Linked DNA regions of Homo sapiens: all the other regions are linked to region 1. Evidence: promoter capture Hi-C in 16 types of primary human blood cells and fetal thymus (Javierre and others, 2016). All regions are on one chromosome and are shown on one strand. The core of a region is centred on a gene start or on the middle of the fragment in contact, and the rest is flanking DNA. Distances in the headings are between cores, read along the strand shown.

What was found. The method cuts DNA at HindIII sites, captures the fragments that hold promoters and counts their contacts. A CHiCAGO score of 5 or more calls a contact.
Region 2: a fragment that was not itself captured here is called in contact with the fragment with the promoter of RAB11FIP4 in region 1 in 2 of 17 cell types (endothelial precursors and neutrophils); the score reaches 7.7 in endothelial precursors.
Region 3: a contact is called between a fragment that was not itself captured here and the fragment with the promoter of RAB11FIP4 in region 1, in 10 of 17 cell types (M2 macrophages, M1 macrophages, M0 macrophages and 7 more). The highest score is 13.4, in M2 macrophages.
Region 4: a fragment that was not itself captured here is called in contact with the fragment with the promoter of RAB11FIP4 in region 1 in 2 of 17 cell types (erythroblasts and megakaryocytes); the score reaches 8.5 in erythroblasts.
Region 5: a contact is called between a fragment that was not itself captured here and the fragment with the promoter of RAB11FIP4 in region 1, in 2 of 17 cell types (endothelial precursors and naive CD4 T cells). The highest score is 5.9, in endothelial precursors.
Region 6: a fragment that was not itself captured here is called in contact with the fragment with the promoter of RAB11FIP4 in region 1 in 5 of 17 cell types (M2 macrophages, M1 macrophages, neutrophils and 2 more); the score reaches 10.5 in M2 macrophages.
Region 7: a fragment that was not itself captured here is called in contact with the fragment with the promoter of RAB11FIP4 in region 1 in 9 of 17 cell types (naive CD4 T cells, erythroblasts, naive CD8 T cells and 6 more); the score reaches 9.4 in naive CD4 T cells.

Annotation. Positions count from the first base shown.
Region 1 is chr17:31,390,305-31,393,020 of GRCh38, forward strand. It overlaps RAB11FIP4 (RAB11 family interacting protein 4), which reads left to right and starts at 1,371. Exons shown (of 15, transcript NM_032932.6): 1 at 1,371-1,707. The coding sequence starts at 1,549. RefSeq lists an enhancer at 586-1,175. The HindIII fragment of the contact is 11,828 bases long and covers 1-2,716 here.
Region 2 is chr17:31,877,650-31,880,365 of GRCh38, forward strand. It overlaps UTP6 (UTP6 small subunit processome component), which reads right to left. Exons shown (of 19, transcript NM_018428.3): 12 at 1,053-1,132; 13 at 601-678. Among named protein-coding and RNA genes, the nearest start is that of COPRS, 20 kb to the left of the region's middle. The HindIII fragment of the contact is 1,453 bases long and covers 629-2,081 here.
Region 3 is chr17:31,852,481-31,855,196 of GRCh38, forward strand. It overlaps COPRS (coordinator of PRMT5 and differentiation stimulator), which reads right to left. Exons shown (of 4, transcript NM_018405.4): 3 at 332-550. Among named protein-coding and RNA genes, the nearest start is that of COPRS, 5.4 kb to the right of the region's middle. The HindIII fragment of the contact is 7,003 bases long and covers 1-2,716 here.
Region 4 is chr17:30,936,527-30,939,242 of GRCh38, forward strand. The region is part of intron 5 of ADAP2 (ArfGAP with dual PH domains 2); the gene reads left to right. Among named protein-coding and RNA genes, the nearest start is that of ADAP2, 16 kb to the left of the region's middle. RefSeq lists a silencer at 1,756-1,956. The HindIII fragment of the contact is 727 bases long and covers 1,003-1,729 here.
Region 5 is chr17:30,954,125-30,956,840 of GRCh38, forward strand. It overlaps ADAP2 (ArfGAP with dual PH domains 2), which reads left to right. Exons shown (of 11, transcript NM_018404.3): 9 at 354-431; 10 at 2,117-2,345. Among named protein-coding and RNA genes, the nearest start is that of RNF135, 16 kb to the right of the region's middle. The HindIII fragment of the contact is 1,426 bases long and covers 613-2,038 here.
Region 6 is chr17:31,815,643-31,818,358 of GRCh38, forward strand. No RefSeq gene overlaps it. Among named protein-coding and RNA genes, the nearest start is that of COPRS, 42 kb to the right of the region's middle. The HindIII fragment of the contact is 2,768 bases long and covers 1-2,703 here.
Region 7 is chr17:30,997,010-30,999,725 of GRCh38, forward strand. RNF135 (ring finger protein 135) reads left to right here. Exons shown (of 5, transcript NM_032322.4): 4 at 233-322; 5 at 1,653-2,716. The coding sequence ends at 2,182. Among named protein-coding and RNA genes, the nearest start is that of RNF135, 27 kb to the left of the region's middle. The HindIII fragment of the contact is 1,266 bases long and covers 774-2,039 here.

The sequences.
Region 1 (2,716 bases), core at 121-2,620:
CATAATGGGCGGGCCCATCCCCTCTGGGTGGGGCTTCCTCTGGGCCCACTCTTGCCTGGAGATCAGGGACTTGAAGGTAATTAAGACATATCTTGCCCTGGAGGGCTTCCCAGCATGGTAGGGGAAATGGGCATCCCACTAGAGAATTAAGAATTAACTGGGCACCTGGAAGAAGGGCTTAGAACTCAGAATAGAAGATAAGATGGCGTGCCATCAGAGAAGCCTTCCCGGAGGAGGAAACCTCTGTGCTGAGCATGACAGCATAGGTGGGAGTAGACTCAGCCAAGGCCTTTTTTTGGGTTGGGGCCAGTCGTTGCCACAAAGACCTGATGTGCCGAGCAAGAAGGTGGAGAGAAGAGCCCGGCCGGGTCCTGCAGGGCCCCGAGGCTGGGCTGGGAAGTTAGCACAAGCTGGGGTGGAGGCTCCGCTGAGCACTAATGGGAGGAGGCCAGGGTCCTGACCTAGAGCCTGCGGCCAGCGGGACAGAGATTCTGTCCTGGATTCTCTGAGCTTGGGGCATGCGGGCTGCCAGGGAGGTGTGATGGTGGGAACCCGGCGAAAGGGAGGAAGCCTCTTCCAGGCGTGGAGCAGCCTTGGGCCCTGAACAGGCAGGCCTCTGGAAGCGCCTCGCTTTTCCTCCCTCCGGCCTCATCCTGGTTTTCTCCTCATCTCCCCGTCGCAGGGTCCCGGGTCCAGGCTGGGGTTCAGTTGCCTGCTCCTCCTCTCTGTGCCCTCCCCCGCCCGATGGCCCCACAAGTGCTGTCTTGCAGGAGAGCGCCGGGAGACCGCAGGGCGGAGGTGAAGAACGGAGTCCAGAGCCCTCCAGAGATGGCAGCGAATCCCGGCCCTGCCTCTTGCCAGCTGTGTGGCCTAGAGTGAGTCCGACCTCTCTGGGCCTCAGCTTCCTCCGGGATGAATGCAGTCACGGAACGCGCCAATGCAGGAGGCCCCCAGGACATCCTGAGCGCTCGGGAGACGCCAGGCGCGGCAGCGGGCACGGATAGCGGAAAGGGGCGCGACCCCGCGGAATCCTCCGGCAGGGCAGGGCCTTTGGGTGGCTCCGGGTGTCCAGAGGAAGGGGTGGGCTCGGGGACGCGGAGGGAAACTGGGGACGCGGAGGGAAACTGAGGTCGCGGAGGACGCGGCCGTTGGCAGCTCGCTGCGCCTGCCGGCCCCGCGTGGGCCGCCCCACTCGGGAGGACGCGGGCTCCTTTTGTCTGCAGCGTCCCCGCCGCCGCCGCCCCCGCCGCCTCCCCCTCTCCCTCCCATTTTCGCCGCGGCCCCCGCCCCTCCCCTCCCCGCCCCCTATTGCCCCTCCTCCTTCCCCTCCCCACTCTTCTCCTTCCCTCCCCTCCCCTCCCTTCCCCTCCGGAGCGGCTGGGGCTGCGGCGCCGCTGCTGACACGGATCGGCCGCGGCCGCCACCGGGCGGAGGCTGCGCGGCGCAGACCCAGACGGGCGGCCCCGGAGGGCGCGCGGCGATGGCGGCGGCGGGCAGGCGGCGGGCGCGGCGGGCGAGGGGTCCGGGCTGAGCTGCGGGCCGGCCCGGATGGCGGGCGGCGCGGGCTGGTCGGGCGCCCCCGCGGCTCTGCTGCGCTCCGTGCGCCGCCTGCGCGAGGTGTTCGAGGTGTGCGGCCGCGACCCCGACGGCTTCCTGCGCGTGGAGCGCGTCGCGGCGCTCGGACTGCGCTTCGGCCAGGGCGAGGAGGTAAGCTGGCCCGACCCCAGTCCCGGCCCGGGGACCCCAGCCCAGCCCCGCCGCCCCTCCCCCAGCTCCCCCGCCGGGTCACCCGCGTGGCCCGAGGCGGTGGCCTCCCTCCCAATCCCCTCCCTCCGCCGGAGCCCAGGACCTCGGCCCCCCCCGGGTATCCCTGGCCCAGCCGGGCCCTCGCTTTCCGCCCCCCGGCGCCCGTGCCCCGAGCGTCACGCGTCACGCCTAGGGTGGCTTCTGCGCCCACCTTCCTTCCTCGGCCATGCAGGTCCTTCTGAGCGGTCTGCACATCCACCCTTGTCTGGGGGAGAGAGCTGCCAGAATCCGGCCCTAGGCTCCCCACCCCACCCGGCGCTGCGGAGACCAAGATGCAAGGGTCTGTGTACGTCCTGCTGGGCCGGGCCAGGGGGTGAAAGGGACCGGTAGGGGTGCTCTGCAGCCTTGGCTCCTCGGCTGCACACACCCTGCCCAGACACGGAAGGAGGTGTCTGCTGGGGCCACCGTGTACTCCCGGGCCAGTGTCGGGTGACCTCTCATTCAGGCTCTGCTGGGCAGCCAGGCTGGCAGCTGGCTGTGTTGGTTGCAGCAGGCCAGGCAAAGCCAGGCTCGGGGAGTGGTGGCTGAGCAGAGGGCTTTCATGTGGCGGGGCCGCATCTATTTGGGGAAAGCAGGACTTACGTAGATTGTTAACAGGGCTGGAAGCGGAGGGTCGGTGCCGCCAGTAGGGTGGACGGAGTCATATCACTAAACGCACACTACACCAGTGTCCTCTGGTGCCACCGGCATGGGGACTGGGGACTGTGTCTCAAGGGGAGGACAAGACACCCACCTGGCTGAAATGGTCAGGGGTTTCCCCTGGAGCCAAAAGCCCTGAGAAGTGGGTTTCCAAGGCCATCTAAGGCCTCAGGCCCTGCATGGGGGGCCTGGGGCCATGGGCCTCAAATGGGCACTGGCTGGCATTGTGTTCCCAGAACAGGTCGGACCAGGCATTTCAGAACATGGGAGA
Region 2 (2,716 bases), core at 105-2,604, 490 kb after region 1:
AGTGAAACTCTGTCCCTACTAAAAATACAAAAATTTGGCCAGGCATGATGGCTCATGCCTTAGTCCCAGCACTTTGGGAGGCCGAGGCAGGGGGATCACTTGAGGTCAGAAGTTAGAGACCAGCCCAGCCAAGATGGTGAAATCCCGTCTCTACCAAAAATACAAAAATTAGCTGGGCGTGGTGGCATGCACCTGTGATCCCAGCTACTTGGGAGGCTAAGGCACAAGAATCACTTGAACCCAAGAGGCAGAGGATGCAGTGAGCTGAGATCGCGCCACTGTGCTCCAGCCTGGGCAACAGAGTGAAACTCCGTCTCAAAAAAAAAAAAAAAAAAGGAATGGGTGGACAAACAAAATAAACCCAAATCATGACTCTTGTTCTAAGTGCTTTTCACTGTATAATACTCCTCCCTTTGCTAGTACAGATTTCATTTTTTGCATAGGCCAAATACTGGGAAACACATATAAACACACTTCACATACCGAACTCCCAAGTGGCCTTCATCTTAAGACTATATATATTTAAAACATGACTCTGGCACAAAACAACTGGAATAAGGTATTTGTAACTGGCACAGAATATTTTCTCTATGTTCTTACCAACTGCTTGTATTGGCATTCTGACAGAAGCTTCAGTTCATGTGCCTTCCTGAATACAGTCATGGTTCTTTCCAACCTCTGAAAACAGAAAAATCCCTCAGTTCATTACAAAGATCCCAGCAGGGGCCTCTGGCCTCTGACATGAACAAAAGCAGTTTTGCGCATTTCTTAAAATTCAAAGAAGCTGACTTGCTCCTGCATGGTGGTTTCACTTATGAATAGATGCAATGGGCAGCTGCACCGAACAGAGCCCAGTTACACGAGAGCCCCTCCTAACCTGGCGGCAAACCAGACTCAGACCTTTAGAATGTCACGTCACCCACAAGGAGAGAGAGAGTGGCTAAACATAAAAGTTCTCAGAAACTGTGCCAGACACCAAAAGATCTGTGCTTCTGTTCTTTCAGAAGGCAGTCACTATCTAGTCAACCACTGTAACCATGTAACAACCTCACCTTCCCTCTAAGGAACCCACTATTTGACTTCTTAGTAAATCTTTCCAAGCAAAAGGTGATGTAACACTTCCACATGGCCTCTGGAAAAGTCAGAAAGATTGTGTTGATCAGATCACTTAGTTCAACATTCATCACATCAAAGTTATTAAAAGATAAGGAAAAAAACAGTCATCCTACACCTTTACTTCAAGGGGAAAACTCTCCTCTGAAGAAGAGTTTAAATCAGCCTGATTTTAAGAAGTGTTATGCTGACTACAGCCAATCAAACACCTCAAATATTGGGGGAAAACAACTGAGTAACAGCTTAAATATAAAAATTGAAAGCCTTATCCAGGTTATATATCCCCTCTGCCTTTATTCTACATTATTACAAAATAAAAATTAAATCACTTTCCAAAGATAATTAAGGGCGAGGCAGTGGTTCACATCTGTAATCCCATCACTTTGGGAGGCTGAGGCAGGCTGATCACCTGAAGTCAGGAGTTCAAGACCAGCCTGGCCAACGTGGTGAAACCTCATCTCTACTAAAAATACAAAAATCCATGGGGCATGGTGGCATGCACCTGTAATCCCAGCTACTCGGGAGGCTGAGGCAGGAGAATTGCTTAAACCTGGGAGGAAGAGGTTGTAGTAACCCGAGATCGTGTCACTGTACTCCAGCCTGGGCAACAGCGTGAGACTCTGTCTCAAAAAGATAATTAAGGATGTCGGTAATCCTAGCAAGTTGGGAGGCCGAGGCATGCAGATCACTTGATTCTAGCAGTTCAAGACCAGCCTGGGCAACATGGCAAAACTCCATCTCTACAAAAAATACATTAAAATTGGCCTGGCGTGGAGGCATGCGCCTGTAGACCCAGCTACTCAGGGGGTTGAGGCGGGAGGATTGCTTCAACCCAGGAGGCAGAGGTTGGAGTGAGCTGAAATTGCGCCACTGCACTCCAGCCTGGGTGACACAGCAGGATCCTGTCTCAAAAAAAAACATAGATAATTAAGAAATAATAATTGAAGAATCTTAGAAATTATTTCCTAAGCTTCCCCCAAAATAGATGAACATAAATACCACTACTATGGAGGAAGGTCATAAAAGTTAGAAAGCCAAGACCAAGTTAGAAAGCCAGGCACGGCCAAATGCGGTGGCTCATGCGTGTAATCCCAGCACTTTAGGAGGCCAAAGTGAGCAAACCACCTGAGGTCAGGAGTTCAAGACCAGCCTGGCCAACATGGTGAAACTCCGTCTGTACTAAAAATACAAAAATTAGCCAGGCATCGTGGCACACGCCTGTAATCCCAGCTACTCGGGAGGATGAGGCAGGACAATCGCTTGAACCTGGGAGGTGGAGGCTGCAGTGAGCCGAGATCACACCATTGCACTCCAGCCTGGGCAACAGAGTGAGACTCTGTCTCAAAAAAAAACAAAAAACAAAAAAAACCCAGGCACGGTGGCTCACGCCTGTAATCCTGTAACCCTAGCACTTTGGGAGACCAAGGCAAGTAGATCGCCTGAGCTCAGGAGTTCGAGACCAGTCTGGGCAACACAGTGAAACCCCGTCTCTACTAAAATACAAAAAAATTAGCTGGGCATGGTGGCGGGCACCCGTAGTCCCAGCTATTTGGGAGGCTGAGGCAGGAGAATTGCTTGAACCCGGGAGGTGGAGGTTGCAGTG
Region 3 (2,716 bases), core at 68-2,567, 460 kb after region 1:
TGAGAAGCTATGCTTCTCAGACAAGGGTTCTTAGCAGTGAAGAAGCAAACTGGATAACACAGCACTTCTATCTGCAGCTGCTCAATTCATAGCAGAGATTTTTGGAGAGAGTAACAGTTTTGACTTTAAAACAGTGATACATTATGGAGTCAAATGCAAAATTTGGATTTTTTCAATATAAAAGAGAAGGTGTCACAGAAATTGGAGACCTGTAACAGATACCAGCCTAAGCTCATAGATGTGGACCCCTGTTCCAAACTGCCTTCAGGGCTGGTCTGACAGGTGTGTCTGAGAAGGCCTAGTTCAGGACCCCCAGAGACTCCACACCTACCATATGGATTCCCTTGATCTGCTTTCAACTCCGAGTCCCAGTCCTCATTAAAAAGATCGCCAGGCTGTTCCTTGGGTGGACAGTTTGTCCCTTCTGACAGCTCCCAGGTATTCAGTTCTCCATCAGAGTCCTCCTCATCCATGGCAAAGCCTTCCTCTTCAGAATGGGTGCCCTCACCCCGGGCAGGACTGTCATTAGGAATGCTCTGTGTTCCACGGGCTAAATTGACAAAGAGAAGATGGCCTTAGTGACAAACCAAAGAGGACCTGCTCTGTGCTCAGTAAATTTTGGGCAGACTTACTACGAAGGTAGTAAAACAAGTGCACAGAGTCTTCTTTAGCCACCGAGCACTTTTTTAAAAATGCACTTCTTTGTATGTTTTTAAAAGAGCTGATAATTTATTTTCAATAAGACGTTTTGTCTTATACAAGGCATTAATTGTCAGGTCCTTTAATTTACAAAGAGGGCTAGGGACAGTTAACATTTTCAGGTGGTTTGTATGTCACTGAGGCAAAGGGCCTCTGATAAATAATACACTTTCACAATACAAGCCTGAATTAAGTTTTTGCTCTTTTTTTTTTTTTTTTGAGACAGAGTCTCGCTCTGTCGCCCAGGCTGGAATGCAATGGCACCATCTCGGCTCACTGCAACCTCTACCTCCCAGGTTCAAGCAATTCTCTGCCTCAGCCTCCTGAGCAGCTGGGATTACAAGCGCCCGCCACCACGCCCAGCTAATTTTTTTGTATTTTTAGTAGAGACGGGGTTTCACCATCTTGGCCAGGCTGGTCTTGAACCCCTGACCTTGTGATCCACCCGCCTCGGCCTCCCAAAGTGCTGGGATTACAGGCGTAAGCCACTGTGCCCGGTTGTTTTTGCTCTTTTATTCCTCCCTTCAGCCTCAAAGAGCATGTTAGAGGTGAGCACAGGGACAAAGGGGAGCAGGGGCACTGCAGGCAGAAGACCAGAACCCATCTAATCACAATGGGCAGCACCTAGTGCCTCCCTCTGACATCAGGGAGGCCGGAAGGTACATTTTCAAAAGGCCTCACAATAACGGAGGAAAGACTGGGGAAAGATAATGGATTTCCGAGCACATAGTGCTTTGGTGATGCCAGGTCCCAGGAGAGAAGGCAATCAGCCTAAAACAGCCATGCTCTTAATACTGGAACAACAGTAACAGTGATAAGCAATAAAGTGATAGTTCAGAGCAAGGGGTCTAAAGCCAGACTGTCTGATTTCAAATCCGTGTTTTGTCAATTACCAAACATCGGACTGGGCCGGGCACGGTAGCTCACCCTTGTAAACCTAGCACTTTGGGAGGCCAAGGTGGGTGGACTGCTTGAGCTCAGGAGTTCAAGGCCAGCCTGAACAATGTCGCAAACCCTGTCTCTACAAAAAATTCAAAAAATTTAGCTGGGTGCAGTGGCATGCACCTGTAATCCCAGCTACTCAAGAGGCTGAGGTGGGAGGATCGCTTGAACCTGGGAGGTGGAGGCTGCAGTGAGCCAAGATCGTGCCATTGCACAGAGTGAGACCCTGTCTCCAAAAAAAAAAAAAAAAAAAAAAAAAAAAGTGTGATTGAGCTGAAATTTACTTAACTAGTTCCATAACATAAATATAGAATTACCATATGACCCAGCAATCCCAGTCCTAAACATATACCCAAAAGAACTGAAAACAGCTGTTCAAATAAAACAAGGATACTCACAGCAGCACTATTTACAATCACCAAAAGGTAGACACAACATCAAATGTCCATCAATGGATGAATGGAAAAACAAAATGTGGTATATGCATATGATGGAATTATTCAGCCATAAAAAGGAATGCAGTGCTGATACATGCTACGGCATGGATGCACCTTGAAAATACGCTAAGTGGAAGAAGCCAGACACAAAAGGCCACATATTGTTATGATTCCCTTTACAGGCAACTCACATTTGCCTATCCAGAACAGATAAACCCACAGAGACAGAAAGCAAATTAGTGGTTGCCAAGAGCTCAGAGAAGGAAGGAATGGAGAATGACTACTTGGTGAGCACAGGGTTTCCTTTTAGGGTGATGAAAAGATTCTGGAACTAGGTAGTGGTGATGGTTGCACAACACTGCCATTGTGCTAAAAGGCTACTGAATTATATGCGTTAAAATGGTTACATGGTAAATTTAGGTTATGCATCTTTTACCACAATTTTTAAATTGTTTTTATTTAACTGTTCTGTGCCTCAACTTCCACATCTGTAAAATGAAGATAGGGTTGTTGTGAGAGTTAAAAGAAAAAAAAAGGCCAGGCACGGTGGCTCATGCCTGTAATCCCAGCACTTTGGGAGGCCGAGGTGGGCGGATCACCTGAGGTCAGGAGTTTGAGACCAGCCTGGCCAACATGGT
Region 4 (2,716 bases), core at 116-2,615, 450 kb before region 1:
ATTGGCGTTTCCCACATGGCAAATGATGTTGAGCATCTTTTTAATGTGCTTATTGGCCATTTGTATATCTTATTTGTAGAAATGTCTATTCAGATCCTTTCCCATATTGGCCGGGCGCGGTGGCTCACGCCTGTAATCCCAGCACTTTGGGAGGCCGAGGTGGGCAGATCAGGAGTTCAGGAGATGGAGACCATCTTGGCTAACACAGATACTTTCCCCATATTTTAATTAGGTTATTTGTCTTTTTATTATTAAGTTGTAATAGTTCTGTATATATTCTAGATACAAGTCACTTATACATGTAGGATTTGCAAAAATTTGAGCTTTTGGATTTTACTGAGTGAGATGGGAAGAAATTGGAGGATTTTGAGCTGAGAAGTGATATTATTTGACTTAAGTTTTTGATTGATTGATTGATTTGAGATGGAGGCTCACTCTGTCACCTAGGCTGGAGTGCAGTGGCGTGATCTCGGCTCACTGCAACCTCTGCCTCCCAGGTTCAAGCAATTCTTTGCCTCAGTCTCTCGAGTAGCTGGGATTACAGGCGCGCACCACCATGCCTGGCTAGTTTTTGTATTTTTAGTAGACAGGGTTCCACCATCTTGGCCAGGCTGGTCTTGAATTTCCGACCTCGTGATCCACCCACCTCACCCTCCCAAAGTGCTGGGATTACAGGCGTGAGCCACCGCGCCCGGCCTATTTATTTATTTTTTGAGATGGGATTTCACTCTATTGCTCAGGTTGAAGTGCAATGGTGTGATCTCGGCTCACTGCAACCTCCACCTCCCGGGTTCAAGTGATTCCCCTGCCTCAGCCTCCCCAGTAGCTGGGACTACAGGCGTGCACCACCACACCCGGCTAATTTTTGTATTTTTAGTAGAGACAGGGTTTCACCATGTTGACCAGGCTGATTTAGAACTCCTAACCTCATGTGATCTGCCCACCTCAGCCTCCCAAAATGCTGGGATTATAGGCATGAGCCACTGCGCCCAGCCTGACTTAAGCTTTTAAAAAGCAGCACGCTGGCTGCTGCTAGGGTGAGTAGGGAGGAAGGAGGCCAGAGCAGAGGCAGAGAAATTAGTCAGGAAGCTGTTGCAATAACCCAAGTGAAGAAGAATGGTGGATCCGACCAGGATGGTTAGAAGTGGTCAGATTCTGGATATATTTTGGAAGTAGAGGCAATAGAATTTATTGAAGGATTGGATGTGGGGTGTGAGAGTAAGAGGAATCAAGGATGATTCCCAGATTTTTGCTCTATAAAACTACAAGAATAGATTTGCTATTTACTAAGGTGGCAAAGACTTAGACCCCTAAGGGGATGCTCAAAAGTCCTTTTTATTTTGAGATGCCTATGAGTCATCCAGTAGAGACATGGGGAAAGAAGTTGGATGTATGTTTCCTGAATTCTAAACCCAAGTGGCAGAAGTTGGATGTCTGATTTGGAGGCTTGGAGAGAGTTTGGAACTGGAGTCGTCAGCATGTAGACTGGTTTAGTAATGGGACTGGCTAGGATCACCTAAGCAGGAAAAAGGTGTTCAAGGACTGAGTATTTTGGTTATGTGTTGCTGAGTAACAAACCATCCTAAAACTTAATGGCTTAAAATATCAATTTACTATTTCTCACAATCCTATGGGTCAGGAATTTGAGGAGGCCTCGGCTGTTCTGGTGTACTCCATGTGGCATCAGCTGGGCTACTCTGCTGCCCTTAGCTGGCCAGAGACCCAAAGAAGCTTTCACTCATGTCTGGTGCCTTGGTGTACTCTATATGGGGGCTCTGTCTTTCTCATTCAGGAGTCTAGCTTAAGCTTTCTTGTGGCTTGGCTGCTGACTTCCCTAAACAAAAGCAAATGCTACCAGACCTCTGGAAGGCTAACCAGGAGCTGCATTCTGTTGGTCAAAGCAAGTCATGCAACAAGCCCTGATTCAAGGGGAGGGGAAATAGATTCAACCTCTTCATGGATAGAGGGTCACGTATACACTGGGAGGGAAAGACTGGGTGAGCGCCATCTTTGGAGACCATCTACCCCATTGAGCCCTGGGGCATTCCAGTATTTAAAGGACAGAAAGATAAGAAGTTTTCAGCAAAGAGAATGTGAAATTGTGGCCAACAAAGTAAGAGAAGGATAAGCTCTGAGCACTTTAGCCTTCACCTTACTCTATTTCCTATATGTAGAATTATTATATATTCCCCCTGTTGCTTTTCTAGGCAGACCAGAGCAATGCTAAAAGGTCTGTCTATGGGGAGGAGAAGGGAGGATGAAGAGAAGTGGGTTAAAGGGTACAAACATTGTAAGATGCAAGGAATAAATTCAATATTTGATACCAGAGTGGGGTAACTATGCTTAACAAAAATACTCTGGTGACCAACACCCTAAATATCCTGGCTTGATCACTACACATTATATACATGTAGCGAAATTTCACATGTACCCCATAAATTTGTATAAATAATAATATAAAAGGTCTGTCCAATGTGGCCACAGTCTGGGACCAAGTAAAAAGTGTTAAGGGATGAAGAATCTTTACCCTCCAAGTTAGAGGAAGAATTTTTTCCCAGTCTTCAATGTAAAGCACTGAAAAATGTGGCTTTTTCAACATTTTTGCTGAAATGGTACAAAAGGCCGGAAGAGAAAGCGCTACTGCAGTTAGGAAAGGTCACCAAACCCCAGCAGCTGCTGCGAGTTGGTCTCTCGGACAGGGCCTCATCATTGGTTG
Region 5 (2,716 bases), core at 76-2,575, 440 kb before region 1:
GGCCAGCACTTTCAGCCTTGCCAAGCAGTAGCCACTTCTGATTTTTTCCAACTTCCTTTCCGGCTTCTTTGTCTACAGCCTGAAAAAGAGGAAGGTGCCTCTTCCAAGTTGAGGCAGCAGGGTGAAGCTGGCAAAGGGTATGGTGGGGTTGGAAGGGGAATGGGCAGAACCTTCAGAGCCTGAGGGCTCCTATCCAGGCCCCAGGGAGAAGCACTAGGATGTCTGACTGAGGAGGCTGGGCTGGAGAACCAGTGGGACTGGCCAGCTCCTTTGGTTTGGGCTGGGCTGGCCCCTGACCTCTATCCTCAGAAACTGACCTGGTCATCTGTGGTAAGAAGTTCCCTCTTTTGCAGCAGAAAGAACCTTTCAAGAAAAGGTGGTTCGCCCTGGATTGCCATGAGCGGAGGCTGCTCTATTACAAGAACCCACTGGTAAGAGCCACTCCTGCTCCCTCCCCAGGGCTTCCTCAAACATTGCTGGGTGGTGCTTGTCTGGAACTATGTGAAAGCTACAGATAAACACATCTCCCAGAGCCCCAGAGCTAGAGAAACCTTGAGAGGAAAACCTCTACCCCTTGTTTTTGTTTCTCTTGAGTAATCTCCTATGGCATGAAGCTTCTCCTCGCTTTCAGGAAGTCTATTATGAGTATCCAAAATGCTGCCCATGGTAGTTAAATATGGTGTATCTCTTCCTCTAGTCTCCAGGGCTCACTTCTAACCAAGAGGCCGTGATGTGTAGTAGTTAGGAGTGTGGTGGACTCTAGAACCCCACCGTCTGGGCTCTGGTCTCAGCCCTGCCACTTGTAGTAGTGTTGCCTTGAGCCGTGTACTTAGTGCTCTGTGCCTCGGTTTCCTCCTCTGAAAAACAGGCTTAATAAGAATGCCTTCCCCAGAGGTTGCCATGATGGTTATTTAAGTTACTATATATAAAGCATTGTAATTCCTGATGCTGATTTTAATAAGTGCTCCGTAAATGTTAGGTATCACTTATTTTTTTTTTTTTAGAGACAGAGTCTCTCTCTGTCACCCAGGCTGGAATGCAGTGGCACAATCACAGCTCATTGCAACCTTGAACTTCTGGGCCCAAGTTATCTTCCTGCCTCAGCCTCCTAAGTAGCTCAGAATACAGGCATGCATCACCATGCCCAGCTAATTAAAAAAAAAAAATTTAGGGCTGGATGTGCTGCCTTTTGTCTGTAATCCCAGCACTTTGGGAGGCTGAGACAGGAGGATCGCTTGAGCCCAGAAGTTCGAGACCAGCCTGTGCAACATAGTGAGATCCCATCTCTACAAGAAACTTAAGGCCAGGCACGGTGGCTCACATCTGTAAACCCAGCATTTTGGAAGGCTGAGGCGGGGCAGATCACGAGCTCAGGAGTTCGAGACTAGCCTAACCAACATGGTGAAACCCTGTCTCTACTAAAAATACAAAAATTAGCCGGACGTGGTGGTGCGTGCCTGTAAGCCCAGCTACTCAGGAGGCTGAGGCAGGAGAATCGCTTGAAACCGGGAGGCAGAGGGTGCAGAGGGTGCATGCCATTGCACTCCAGCCTGGGTGCAGAGTGAGACTCCGTCTCAAAAAAAAAAAAAGAAAGAAAAAAAAAGAAACTTAAAAATTAGTCAGGTGTGGTGGTGCATGCCTGTAGTCCTAGCTGCTTGGGAGGCTGAGGTGGGAGGATTGCCTGAGCCTGGGAGGTTGAGGCTGGGATGAGCCATGATTGTGCCACTGCACTTCCAGCCTGGGTGACAGAGTGAGGCCCTGTCTCCAAAAACAATTCATAATAATAATTAATAATTTTTTTTTGTAGAGAAGGGGTCTCACTATGTTGTCCCGGTTGGTCTCATATTCCTGGCCTCAGGCAATCCTCTGCCTTGGCTTCCCAAAGTGCTAGGATTACAGGCATGAACTACCAGGCCCACCCTCGGTATCTTTTCAATAGATGATGTGTATGATTTATTTTAGGGTTTTGATCTTTCAAATTCTGGGTCCCACTTAGCAGAAATCCCAGCAGGGACCTCATACCCCTTTCCCAAAATAAAGCTTGGAGGCTGTCAGGGCTGCAGGGCCCCTCTGCCCTGGGGGCACCCTCTGATGACCCTGTACTCTCCATTTTCAGGATGCCTTCGAGCAGGGCCAGGTTTTTCTTGGGAACAAGGAGCAGGGATATGAAGCCTACGAAGACCTGCCCAAGGGCATCCGAGGAAATCGCTGGAAAGCCGGACTCACCATTGTCACCCCAGAGCGGAGATTTGTCCTCACTTGCCCCAGTGAGAAGGAACAGCAGGAATGGCTGGAAAGTTTGCGGGGTGTCCTGTCCAGCCCCTTGACGCCCCTCAACCGGCTTAGTAAGAAGCAGGAACTGAGGGGTGTTCTTTTGGACAAGGGCAGAGGACAGAAAATTGCTTCTTCACTTAGGTTCAGCTTTGATACCACAAAAGATTCCTGATTCCTGACTATGCTCTTTTCATTGTCTTCTCTTCCTGCAAAAGAAAAGCACAGACATGCCATTATTGCCAAAAGGTCTCCTCTGTCCACTCTGGGTTCCCCTAACCGAGCCCTTCCCCAGGAGCTTTTAGAGGAGTTTGGCCCTGGCAGAACCCCTGGGTGCTGTCTGTACCCCTTGCGGTGTGGGGGCTAAGCAGCTTCTCTTTCCCTCCACCGTGCTCTATGCTGATCCTTTTTCTCGTGAGAAAACGCTGGCCTGTTATTATTAGCT
Region 6 (2,716 bases), core at 70-2,569, 430 kb after region 1:
ATGGTTCCTGAACTAGTCCTATTGCCACAGTAGGAGGCAAGACTAGGAGAAAATATTACAAAGCATATATCTGACAAAATTTTTATATCTAGGATATATAAAGAACTCTGGTAACTCAATAATAAGACAGACAATTGAGTTAGAAAATGGGCAAGAGAGGCTGGGTGCGGTGGCTCACACCTGTAATCCCAGCACTTTGGGAGGCCGAGGCAAGCAAATCACGAGGTCAGGAGATAGAGACCATCCTGGCTAACACAGTGAAACCCCGTCTCTACTAAAAATACAAAAAATTAGCCTGGCGTGGTTGCGGGTGCCTGTAGTCCCAGCTACTCGGGAGGCTGAGGCAGGAGAATGGCATGAACCCAGGAGGCAGAGCTTGCAGTGAGCCAAGATCGTGCCACTGCACTCCAACCTGGGTGACAGAGCGAGACTCTGTCTCAAAAAAAGAAGAGAGAAAATGGGCAAGAGATTTGAACAGACACTTCACCAAAGAAGATATACAGATGGCAAATAAGCTCATGAGAAGAGGCTCAACATCATTTGTTATTAGGTAAATTCAAATAAACCACCATGAGATACCACACACACCACTAGAATGACTAACATTAAAAATACTATTTCAAGCCAGGTGCGGTGGCTCACACCTGTAATCCCAGCACTTTGGGAGGCCGAAGCGGGTGGATCACGAGGTCAGAAGTTCAAGACCAACCTGGCAAGATGGTGAAACCCCGTCTTTACTAAAAATACAAAAAGATTAGCTGGGTGTGGTGGCAGGCACCTGTAATCTCAGCTACTTGGGAGACTGAGACAGAGAATTTTTTGAACCCGAGAGGCAGAGGTTGCAGTGAGCCAAGATCGCGCCACTGCACTCCAGCCTGGGCAACAGAGTGAGACTCCGTCTCAAAAAATAAATAAACTAATAATAATAATAATAACTATTCCAAGTGTTGGCAATGATATGGAAAAACTGGAACTTTCATATGATGCTGGTGGGAATGTAAAATGATGCAACCTCTTTAGAAAACAGTTTGGAAGTTTTCTTATATATAAGATGTTTAACTTTTTAAAGTGATATAAATCACTGCACCCATCTATTTTAGAATATACATTTCCCAGAAATACATAGAATACTTAAGAAATTTAATTACATTCAGGTCTCAACAAATTTCAAAGGACTGGTATACTGGTATCCTATAGACCACTTTCTCCAACAACAATTAAAAATGCAGAAATCTAATTTAATGGTGAAGCATTGAATACTCTCCCTTTGAGACCAAAGAAAAGAGTGCCTGCTTATAACATTTTTATTCAATATCATATTGGATGAAGAGAAGAATAATAAAGGCATAAGAATTAGAAAAGAATAAAATATTCGTTATTCATGTATATGATTGGGCTACATAGAAAACACAAAAATCTATAAAGAAATTATTAGCTTTAATAAAAAAGTTTAGCAAGTTGCTGAATAAAAAAATTAATATACAACAGTCAATGAATTTCTACAACCAGCATCAAATTACAAAAGTAATTTTTAAAAAGATAATCATCGGTTGGGCATAGTAACACATGCTGTTGTCTTTACTCAGGAGGCTGAGGTGGGAAGATTGCTTAAGCCCAGGAATTTGAGTACAGCCTGGGCAGCATACAAAGACCCCATCCCTTGAAAATAAAAAAAAAAGATAGTCATGCTAAAAAGATAAACTGAAATGAATAAATCTAACAAAAGTGATTTATGGAGAAAATTATAAAATCCTTTTGAAAATCATTAAAGAAACCTAAATAAATGGGGAGCTTCCTGGATATCTTTTAATTTTAATATACTTTCTTCTAAAATATTCAAAATTAAAGCTAGGCATGGTGGTTAACGCCTGTAATCCCAGCACTTTGGGAGGCCGAGGCAGGTGGATCATGTGAGGTCAGGAGTTCAAGACCAGTCTAGCCAACATGGTGAAACCCCATCTCTACTAAAAATACAAAAATTAGCCAAGCATGGCGATGCACACCTGTAATCCCAGTTACTGGGGAGGCTGAGGCAGGAGAATCACTTGAACCCAGGAGGCAGAGGTGCAGTGAGCCAAGATTGTGCCATTGCACTCCAGCCTGGGAGACAAAAGCGGAATTCCATCTTGAAAAAATAAAATAAAATGAAATATTCAAAATTAACTTTTGAAAACACATATTAAAACAATTTTAAGTTTTTATGTTTTTATTATATTCATTCAAACATCACTGGTCCATTTACAGAACATCCAGACACAACTATGATTAAGTTTGGTCATGTTGATTATCTTTCCAATTTCAGTAATGTGAATTACAGAACTTTATATATTGTTTCTTTTTTTTTTTTTTTTGAGACAGGGTCTTGCTCTGTTGCCCAGGCTAGAGTGCCATGGTGTGATCATAGCTCACTGCAGCCTTGACCTTGTAGGCTCAAGCAATCCTCCCACCTCAGCCTCTTTGAGTAGCTGGGACCACAAGTGCACACCACGATGCCCAACTAATTTTTCAATTTTTTGCAGAGACAAGGTCTCGCTATATTCATCAGGCCTCAAACTCCTGGGCTGAAGCGATCTGCCTACCTTGGCCTCCCAAAGTGCTGGGATTACAGGCATGCACCACTGCGCCCCGCCTAGCTAACGAGTTTGGGGTTCATCATCCCATTCATTTTAAGGGCGAAGGAGTGACATGAAAAGCACAGCCTTAAGCTTCATTTGTC
Region 7 (2,716 bases), core at 157-2,656, 390 kb before region 1:
GCAAGGAGCTGAGAGCTTAGTGAAGAAAGAGTGAAAAGTCCACAGTGAGAACATGGAGGTGCACATACCTGGGCTGCAGGCACACTGCCTCTGCCTGATCCAGTCCTGACACTGAAAAATGTGTAGATGATAAGAAGACAAGCCAGCCATGTGCCTTGACCATGATGTTTGGAGACCTTCAGTTTGCCTTTTTCTGATGGGACTTTCCTCTGTTAATTTTTTTGTTACTTAGGAGAACTCCTGGAAGCCCCGTCTTCCTCCTCATGCCCATTGCCTGACCAGAGCCACCCTGCACTCAGGAGAGCTTCTCGGTTTGCTCAGTGTAAGTATGTGGTCCACTTTAAACATGGGTTTGGCTTGCCGCAGAGCGGGCTTCGAGAATATCCTACATCCATCTCCCTACTGCTAGGGCCACTCCTTGGCTTACTGCACATGGATTTGTTCCAGGTCCCTCCACGGGGGGAGCTGATTGCAAAGGCAAAGCAGGTTGAGACTCTAGACCCAAGAGCACTCAGAGTCCCGCCAACCTTTGAGCATCTCTGCTGTGGCCACCAACTACAGCCAACTGCCTGTTCCCAAACCTGCTGAGGTATTTCTGCATCTGTGCTGTGGCCACCAACTATAGCCAACTGCCTCTTCCTAAACCTGCTGAGGTATTTCTGCCATCTCAGTCTGGGATAGTCCTTAAGAGCATGGATCCCAGAGCCAGACTGCTTGGGTTTGACTCCCAGCAGCTCCACTAACTAGCTGTGTGATCTTGGGCAAGTCACTTAAGCTTCCTAGAGCCTGGGTTTCCTCATCTGTAAAATGGAGATAATATAGTACTTCTCTTGCGGGATTGCCATGAGGGTTAAGTGAGTGAGTATGAGTAAAACACCTAGAGTAGTCATGCTGTATAAGTGTTAGCAATTTATTCACTCAATAGGAAACCAAATGAAATATACAAAGTGAGTAAGACATGGTCCTCAATCAGGAAGTTTCAGTTTAACTGGGAAGGTATAAACAGCTGTGGTCATAAATCACCATAAGACGGGCGTGAGCCACCGCACCTTGCCTACGCCCAGCTAATTTTGGTATGTTTAATAGAGACAGGAGTTGGCCATGATGGCCAGGCTGGTCTTGACCTCCTGGCCTCAAGTGTTCCACCTGCCTCAGCCTCCCAAAGTGCTGGGATTACAGGGGTAAGCCAGTGCACCTGGCTGAAGGAGCTGGCCTGATTTTTAAAATTGACATATAATAATTGTATAGTCTGGGTGCAGTGGCTCATGCCTGTAATTGCAGCACTTTGGGAGGCTGAGATGGCAGGATTGCTGGAGCTCAGGAGTTCGACACCAGCCTAGGAAGCATGGCAAAATCCTGCTTCTTTTCTAAATAAATTTTAAAAATAAATAAATATAATAAGTGTACATATTTATGGGATACATAGTGATGTTTCAATACATATGGTGCATAGTGATCCGATCAAGGTAGTTAGCATATCTATCATCTGAAACATTTATCATTTCTTCCTGTTGGGTGATGTAGCAATTTTAATGCTAGTGTGAGTGAAACATCACACCAAAAGATACAAAGTTGCTATTTGAAGACTTCTTAGCATGGACCATCAAAAGATGACCGGCCATGTTCTTATTGTTCTTTTTTTTTTTCCAAAGGGGCCATCCATCCAACCTTTAACTTGAAGAGCCTTTCCTGCAGCCTGGAGGTGTCCAAGGATTCCCGTACAGTGACTGTGTCTCACCGCCCACAACCCTATCGCTGGAGCTGTGAGAGGTTTTCTACCAGCCAGGTCTTATGTTCCCAGGCCCTGTCTTCTGGAAAGCATTACTGGGAAGTGGACACTAGGAATTGCAGCCACTGGGCAGTTGGGGTGGCTTCCTGGGAGATGAGCCGCGACCAGGTCCTGGGAAGGACTATGGACTCTTGTTGTGTGGAATGGAAGGGGACTAGCCAGCTCTCTGCATGGCACATGGTCAAGGAAACTGTCCTTGGCTCAGACAGACCTGGGGTGGTGGGCATCTGGCTGAACCTTGAGGAGGGAAAGCTTGCCTTCTATTCAGTGGACAATCAGGAGAAGCTTCTGTATGAGTGTACCATCTCTGCCTCCTCTCCTTTGTACCCTGCCTTCTGGCTGTATGGCTTACATCCTGGAAATTACCTGATAATAAAGCAAGTAAAGGTGTAAGGTTTCCTAAGGGATTACAACACAGTGGTTTCCTGGTCTCTCTCCCTGTCATCAATCAGGGTAGTAACTTGACTTAAGAATACCACTTTTTAGAAAAATTACGATAGAGATGGGATCTCACTAGGTTGCCCAGGCTGGTGTCGAATTCCTGGTCTCAAGCAGTCCTCCCACCTCAGCCTCCCAAGGTGCTGGGATTACAGGTGTGAGCCACCACACCTGGCCAAGAATACCACTTTTGAAGTTAATCCTTTTGTGTGATACAGGATGAACTTGGGATGTTTGAACCCTGGACATTCCAAATAAAGAATAGGCCCCTGCCTGGCTCCTGGGAGATAACCTCTAAGCCATTAGAATATCTTGCCTGATAAGAGTGTTTTTGTTTACCTGTGGGCCTTGGGCCATGCAGTATCAGCTTGACCTTGCAAGGTCAAGCTGAGGAGACTAAGTTAGCCATGTGGGCAGTGAAGCATGCCAATGTGATCAATCCCTAGTAAAAGCCCTGGACACCTAGGCATGGGTGAGCTACTCTGGTTG